Linked DNA regions of Homo sapiens: regions 1 and 2 are each linked to region 3. Evidence: promoter capture Hi-C in 16 types of primary human blood cells and fetal thymus (Javierre and others, 2016). All regions are on one chromosome and are shown on one strand. The core of a region is centred on a gene start or on the middle of the fragment in contact, and the rest is flanking DNA. Distances in the headings are between cores, read along the strand shown. Region 1 has its middle 27 kb from the start of SLFN12. Region 2 has its middle 54 kb from the start of SLFN5. Region 3 holds the start of SLFN12L (schlafen family member 12 like).

The links. The method cuts DNA at HindIII sites, captures the fragments that hold promoters and counts their contacts. A CHiCAGO score of 5 or more calls a contact.
Region 1: a fragment that was not itself captured here is called in contact with the fragment with the promoter of SLFN12L in region 3 in 4 of 17 cell types (total CD8 T cells, activated CD4 T cells, naive CD8 T cells and 1 more); the score reaches 8.3 in total CD8 T cells.
Region 2: a fragment that was not itself captured here is called in contact with the fragment with the promoter of SLFN12L in region 3 in 17 of 17 cell types (naive CD8 T cells, activated CD4 T cells, non-activated CD4 T cells and 14 more); the score reaches 27.8 in naive CD8 T cells.

What each region holds. Positions count from the first base shown.
Region 1 is chr17:35,404,633-35,407,332 of GRCh38, reverse strand. It overlaps the pseudogene LOC729839. Among named protein-coding and RNA genes, the nearest start is that of SLFN12, 27 kb to the left of the region's middle. The HindIII fragment of the contact is 2,026 bases long and covers 244-2,269 here.
Region 2 is chr17:35,295,321-35,298,020 of GRCh38, reverse strand. No RefSeq gene overlaps it. Among named protein-coding and RNA genes, the nearest start is that of SLFN5, 54 kb to the right of the region's middle. The HindIII fragment of the contact is 4,202 bases long and covers 1-2,700 here.
Region 3 is chr17:35,536,330-35,539,029 of GRCh38, reverse strand. It overlaps SLFN12L (schlafen family member 12 like), which reads left to right and starts at 1,352. Exons shown (of 5, transcript NM_001363830.2): 1 at 1,352-1,457. RefSeq lists an enhancer at 1,945-2,024. The HindIII fragment of the contact is 3,143 bases long and covers 1,054-2,700 here.

The DNA of each region.
Region 1 (2,700 bases), core at 7-2,506, 130 kb after region 3:
ATCCTTCTACAATCATCGTCATTGATGGTACACGGAGCCAGGCTAAGGACATTTTCTGTAAGAATTCCTTGTTCTGACACCCCCAAACAGGTGCAGTTAAAAACGAGCATTTCTAGTCAGTATGTAATTCGGATACAGCCAATTAATAGATGTCTTTCTACACTGGAGTGTGCACCTGTTGCTCTTTCCATCTTGGAGAAAAATAATTACATACAAGAGACTTTGCTTCGCCCTCTTGAAGCTTTATGCTCTTTCCAGATTTAGCATGGTGCCCAAATTGGCCCCAGCAAGCAACGCCTTCTGAAAAAATGGATTATATCCTAAACCAATGCCAAAGAACAAACACAAACTCAGGAAAATGGAACTATTAAAGAATAGTGTTAAAATTTAGTACAGTTGTTCTTTTGGTGTTAGCTTACCTGTCTTCATCTAACAATACCAACTTAAGTTTTCATATAGTTTAGGTCTGTAGGTTTTTGACTTGCTAATGAGAATTGCATACTAATCTTGCCCAGAAGAAGGAAGTAAACCAAATATTCATAGAAACAAACAAACGAATGAAAATTCACTGGCTCACTGAAAAGGAAGATTTCATACTGTACTTGTTTTTAAACATGTGCCTCTAATAATACATGTTTTCAAACCCAAATTTAAAGTGTGATTTGTTGTTGAGCTGGGTTAGAAGTTCTTGCTTGTAAAATAGAAGGAAATCCTTGTGGTAGATTGGAACAGTATTGTTTCCATTAATGTTTATAAATAAGTAGGTGTAGACCAATAATATAAGATACCTACATCAATTTGCAGTCCTAACTTTATAGTTTGAAGTAAGTAGCAAAAGAAAATTATGATAATTAATTCATTATTTTGTAAAACACTATAAAGGAATAAGAAAACTTTATTGTTAGGGGCTAAATTTGAATTTAGCTAATACGATTTAAGTGTTCTATTAATTGCCCTGATTTTTAAAGAGGTACATGTAATTTTGAAATAGCACACATTTTCATTTGCAATCACTCTGGGGATAAATTTTTATTTTTCAGTGTTCATTGAACAGGCTTATTGACTATGGTAAACTTATTTTATTGAAGTTTTCAACCGGAAAATAGTAAGTGGAATATGATACAACTGTTATTTTCAGAACATATTTCTTTAGGGCTATTTAAAATAACCTTTTTAAAGGGCAAAAACTTTCAATTTGAGAGAACAAATTCCTCTCCTCTGTGGGAAAATATTGGCTGAGATTTTGTATAGAATAAGAGACATGTATGTAACATATATTTATATTCAGCATAAGTCTACTGCAATCATGTACACATCTTAGCAAGACGAGAGGATTTTGTTTAGTCTTTGTTTATGACTTCTACAGTTTCCTGTATCTAGTGTTAAGTTGTAAGGAAAAACTAAACATGCAATTTAAAGGTAAACTTGATAACTATTTATGGAACATAAGCATACACCAATGGTTATTTCTCACAGTTTTCATGCGCATTTGTTTATTGTTTACTTGGATTAGGCTCATTAAAAACCATAATGCTGGTCACAATTAGAATGCTAATATTTGGGGAAGCTATGCAGAAAATATTTTAAAATAGTAAAAGTTAGAGTGCTATCTTCTGTTGTTGATTTATTTTTGGATTTAAAAACAAATTAGGGCTGGGCCCAGTAGCTCACACCTGTAATCCCAGCACTTTGGGAGGCTGAGATGTGAGAATTGCTTGAGCCCAGGAGTTTGAGACCAGCCTGGGCAACACGGTGAGACCCCAACTCCACGCAATTTTTTTTTTTAATAATTAGCCAGACATGGTGGTGTGCACCTGTGGTCTCAGCTGCTTGGGAGGCTGAGGCAGGAGGATTGCTTGGGCCCAGGAGGTCGAGGCTGCAAGGAGCTGTGTTTATTCCACTGCACTCCAGCCTGGATTACAGAGTGAGACCTATCTCCATAAATAAATAAACAAATTAGCTCATTTACAGTGTAAAACACCTAATATCAGATGATTATTTGGTGCTCTAGAAAAGAAATAGCACATAATACTATATAATATAGTTTCTTAACAAGTGGGGCTAAAAATCATTTTATAGTAATTTTTCACATTGATATTAAACTTCATGAGTTTCCTTTAGTCATTATTATTTTTTAAAAAGAAAACTCCCCCCACCCCTAATATACCATTTTGTATCTCAAAATTTTACTTTGTTGATTTTTAAAGAGTAATTTCTACTTTTATCTTTTAAATAAAACATTTTTGTGTATTTTTCAAGACAAAAAGCTTAACATTTAGTGTTTTTGGAAATGTATTAACGTTTTCTTGAAGTATGTATAGTTTTCCAAATTATTTTACTGATCTGTTAACGCACTTTACTTGTTTTTAACTTATTTTTTCATGACCCCTTTACAAGGTGAGTCCATTTAATCATCTGTGGTATAAAATGCTTCTCTAGCCACCTGTTCTCATTAAACAGTTTTAAGTAAGTTTTAAAAGCCATTCTTTTAATTACTAAAAGTTCTCAAAGTGTGTAGTATTATGTGAATATTTTAACTGAAAATTTAATCAGGCTTTTAAAAATTACTTTTTTATTGTATTAGTTGACTTCTAAATTCAGATTCTTTATATTTGCTTGATTTTCCTGGAAGTTCCAGGCTCTATGAATTTGTAGCTGATAGTAGAGGCTTTACTTGTGTACCCCAAATGCACTTTGATG
Region 2 (2,700 bases), core at 76-2,575, 240 kb after region 3:
ACAGGTTTATTTTGGAGAATAAACCTGAGAGGGGCTTCTGGCTGATTTTGGTCAGGAGCACACTCTCTTACAGATTAAGCGTATTTGTTGATTTTAGGGTGAGAGAGCTTATCATAGGCTTGGAATGTTTCTTTGTGGGGAAGAAGTTTATTGTGGGTTTGGAATGTCTCTGGTAGGAGGGGAGGTTGTCTTGGGGCTGACATCTCTCTGGGGAGGGGTTTATCTTATGGTTGAAATGTTTCTGGTCAGAGATGTCATTTATGGTTTATGGTCATGCTGGCCTTAGCCTTTAGGCTGATGCCCTGTGGATTTAGGTGGTTTTTGATTAAGGGGAACTTTAGAATGGTGGTGTTTGTCCAAGATGGTGATGCTCCTGTTCTGTCAAAGTCCCTAGGCTGCACACAGCACAGGGATCCTCTGTCCAGCCCAGGAAACTACTTTTTCCTCCTGGGCCTCCAGACCTGTGATGGGAGGGGCTGCTGTGAAGGTCTCTGACATGGCCTAAAGACATTTTCCCCATGGTCTTGGGGATTAACAGTAGGCTCCTCACTGCTTATGCAAATTTCTGCAGCTGGCTTGAATTTCTCCCCAGAAAATGGGGTTTTCTTTTCTATTGCATAGTCAGGTTGCAAACTTTCCAAACTTTTATGCTCTGCTTCTGTTATGAAATTGAATGCCTTTAACAAGTCACCTCTTGAATGCTTTGCTGCTTAGAAATTTCTTCCACCAGATACCCTAAATCATCTTTCTCAAGTTCAAAGTTTTACAAATTTCTAGGGCAGGGGCAAAATGCCACCAGCCTCTTTGCTAAAACATAACAAGATCCACCTTTACTCCAGTTCCCAACAAGCTCCTCATCTCCATCTGAGACCACCTCAGCCTAGACCTTATTGTCCATATCACTATCAGCATTTTGGTCAAAGCCATTCAACAAGTCTCTAGGAAGTTCCAAACTTTCCCACATTTTCCTGTCTTCCTCTGGGGCTTCCAAACTGTTCCAACTTCTGCCTGTTACCCAGCTCCAAAATCACTTTCACATTTTCTGGTATCTTTTCAGCAATACCCCTCTACTGGTAACAATTTACTATATTAGTCTGTTTTCATGCTGCTGATAAAGACATACCCAAGACTGGGAAGAAAAGGAGGTTTATTGGGACAGTTCCACATGGCTGGGGAAATCTCAGAATCATGGCGGGAAGTGAAGGCACTTCTTACATGGTGGTGGCAAGAGAAAATGAGCTAGAAGCAAATGAGGAAACCCCTGATAATCCCATCAGATCTCATGAGACTTATTCACTATCATGAGAATAGCATGGGAAAAGACGGCCTCCATCATTAAACTACCTCTCCCTGGGTCCCTCCCATAACATGTGGGAATTCCGGGAGATACAATTCAAGCTCAGATTTGGATGGGGACACAGCCAAACCATATCAATGACTGTACTAATTTACATTTCCTCCAACAGTGTACAAGAGTTTTCTTTTTTCCTCATCCTCTCCAACACTTGTTTTCATTCATCTTTTTTGTAATAGTCAATCTAACAGCATGAGGTGATATATTATTGTGGTTTTATTTACATTTCCCTGATCAGTAATATTGAGCATTTTTCCAAATATCTATTGGCCATTTGTGTGTATTTTGAAAAATGTGTATTCACATTGTTTGCCCAGTTTTTAATCAAGTTATTTGTTTCTTTCGATTGAGTCATTTGAATACCTTGTATATTTTGGATATTAGCCCATTTTATGCTGTATAATTTGCAAATATGTTCTCCCAATCCGTGGACTGTATCTTCACTCTGTTAATTATTTCCTTTGCTGTGCAGTAGTTTTTTTTGTTTGATGCAATACCATTTGTCTATTATTGTTTTCATTGCCTGTACTTTTGGGACCTAGCAAAGAAATCACTGCCCAGAACAAGCTCACGTTTTTTATGGTAAGAAGGAAAAGTCTATATTCTGAAAAGATGGCAGATGTTTTATTTAACCAGAAATTAACTGCCTTCAAGGACCCTTTTTTAGATTCTTTCTGAGGATCCTTGAAGGGAGTCCATTTCCTGGAAATTAACGCAGGAAATGGGAGTTTCAAGGATGGAGATTCTTTAGGCATGAGTATAGTCTAGAGGAAGATGTGACAAATCACATAATTGGGCTTCAAGCAGTGATGGCCCAGGAAGGCCTAACTGGACTCCTAAGGACTCAGCAGAACTGAAGGCATTTGAGAGCACTCACTCCTTCTGTCAGACTCTCTCCAAAGTTAAATCAAGGAGAAATATTGTTTTTTCCATTATGCTGATGCAGCCTGACCACTGTGAGGACTGTGGGACTTTACAAGGATGGTGTTAAAAGTAGAGGTAAACAGCAAGATTTCACAATCATGCAAAGGAAAGAAAAGGGCGCTATAAAAATATATTAACTAACCAGCCAAGGAAAGGGAAAGGGGAGAAAAACAAGAAAATTCAGTGTTGCAAAAGTGATAATTTGCAACTGACAATGTTTGCTCTGATTCTGTTTTTCTACCCTGCCCCTGCCTCTGCCTCTCTTGGCCTCTCCAAGACCTGACACAATGCCCGCCCCGCCCGTCCCATCCTTCATATCCACACTCAATCACAGTGTGAATGTCAAGACTGAGAAGAACCTGCCCTAGGGTTTCACATGGCAGCTTTTTGCTCACTGAGGCCTCCCTGACTTCCCAGTCTAA
Region 3 (2,700 bases), core at 103-2,602:
TTGCATCCTCCTTGGGGATGTCTCTTACATCCATGGTTAAGTGATAAAAGGCTTATAGGTTTTAAGCCATAAAAACTTACTGGTTTTGAGTCACAATTAAGACAGGTATACCTTTGAAGATTTGAACTTTTATATCTAAAAGGATTTTTTTTTAAAAGAAAGCTGTCATCCTAAACAAATGTCTATGGAAAGATGAGATCGAAAGAAAATATTAATAGGCAAAGATGAGAATCAATTTTTATCAAAATTATTAAATTTTGTGTTTATGTATACCTAATCATGGCTAAGATTTTAAATGAAAATTATAAGATCTATTTGTGTCTGTCTTTATGTTTATGCCTATATGTGTGTGTTGTGTATATGTGATATGTCTCTACCTCCTGATATTGCACCACTACTTGACAGTATAATTCAGAATGTCTGGGGAAGGACCTTAGCATCTGAATTTTTAAAAAGCATGCCAAAAGATTTGAACAAGCAGCCAAGATTGGGAACTAATTATCTGATTAACGAATGACATCTCTAATTCAATTCCCTCTAGTGCACAGCACCTTTTCTTATAGCTAAAAATGATTGCTAAATCCACACTGTAATAATTTTTTCAATGTATAAGGATAGAAACCCAAAAAAAATGGAACAAGAAACCAACAAGAGCTCAAGGGAATTGTGACTCCTACAGCTGTTGAGGGAGACAGCAGGTCAAAAAGTAGCAGAAACTTGATCAGAACAATAGCAACAGTATTAGCAGCTAAATTAATAGCAGTGAATCCATCTCGGCTCTAATTACAACAACTATTAGGATTATGGAGGCTACTATAAAAATTGAATGAGAAAGTCAGTGAGATGCACTGTTTAATTTCCTTTCTGGCTCTTTCACTGTTTCTTTTTGTTTTGTTTTTTCCCTTTTCCTTGCCAATAAAAAATATTTGTTGAGTAACTCAGGCCTACTGTACAAAGTAACAATTCTCTCCTCCCTTTCCATCTTCTTCCTCTCCAGTTCTACTTCTGAGAAAGTAATCCTTAATAACAGTTTGGTGTGTATCCAAAAAAGCTTTTTTGTAGCATTATTCTCCAAAGTGTTTGAAGCATTTCTTCTGATAAAGTTTCTTTAGTCTTTAGCCAGAACTAGTCTTTGGCCCACTTAGTCTATTGATAAACAGGAAATAGCACATATTCCCCCCTTGAGGCTAGAATGGCAGGCCTAAAATGAGTAGGAGAATTCTGAGAAATGGAAACTTTAAAAAGGCGGCAACCTTCTAGTTTCATTCTCAGAAATACCAAAGCAGCATTTTTCCTGGACTTGTTCTGCAGAGCGCTCAGATTTGAAAGCCATTTCTAGCCTTTGAGGATTACCACTGTCCTCAGCCAAACTGCAGGGACTCCTAAGTAGATCAGAGCTCCTGGAACTTTCTCATCTTTTCAGCATCTCAACCCTGTGGAATCTTTTAACTCCCAAGGTAAGTACAGATTGTCCAGAGAGATCTAAGCCATGCTTATTCAATGGAATGGAGAGTCTCTCAAAGAGACCTCATAACTCTAAGATGAAAATCTCCTCTGTGGCTACAGACTTTTCCAGATATACCCACTTTAGGCAAGAGAGGATGAAGTAGACACTTTAGGTCTACACTTTTAATAAATAAGTGAAATAGACAATGAGAGGAGCTGGTCCTTAGACTGTACTCACCTTGTAGCTGAGGCCAGGGATGTAGGACTCAAGCCCAGAGGAACCTGGCTGGGCTGAGAGAAAGAGATGTAGAGGGTTCTCATAGTTCTGGGGAACAAACCTTCAGATAAGACAAGTGAGGAGACTTGGGAGGAAGGGATGCCTGTGAAGATTCTCTTTTTTTTTTGAGACAGGTTCTCACTCTTTCGCCCAGGCTGTCGTGCAGTGGTGCGATCACAACTCACTGCAGCTTCGACCTTCCAGGGCTCAAAGGATCCTCCTGCTTCAGCCTTTGAAAGTGCGGGGACTACAGGCACTGAGCGTGAGGGTGCCTGGCTAATTTTTTTCGTTTCTGTAGAGAGGAAGTCTTGCTAGATTGACCAGGCTGGTTTCAAACTCCTGACCTCAAGTAATCGTCCCACCTTGGCCTCCCAATGTGCTGGGATTATAGACATTAGCCACCGTACCCAGCCTCGCCTGTGAAGATTCTTTAGCAGTTAGCTGATTGCTTCATCACTATGAAAAGGGGTTTCTTATTTTTCTTATTTTTTTTTTTTTGAGACAGGCTCTCACTCTGTCACCCAGGCTGGAGTGCAGTGATGCAATCGTGGCTCACTGCAGTCTCAACCTCCCTAGGCTCAAGTGATCCTCCCGTCTCAGACTCTCGAGGAGCTGGGACTATAGACCATGCACCACCACACCCAGCTAATTTTTTTATATTTTGTAGAGACTGGATTTCCTTGCTCAGACTGGTCTCAAACTCCTGGGCTCAAGCAATCTGCCCACCTTAGCCTCCCAAAGTGCTGGGATTACATGCATGAGCCACTGAGCCCAACTGTGTTTTTTTGTTTTTCGTAATATATAAACTATTTTGTTTTCAGAGAAACTTAAGCTATATTGACTGGGAAACTGTGATCTAGTTGGATTTAGATATAATGTTTGCAAATGTGTCACTGCATTGGGTCTTTTTGTTTACCAACATTAATTAAAGCAGATACTTGTGAAGGCCCTAGATGTTCTGTCTAGCTGTGTTTTTA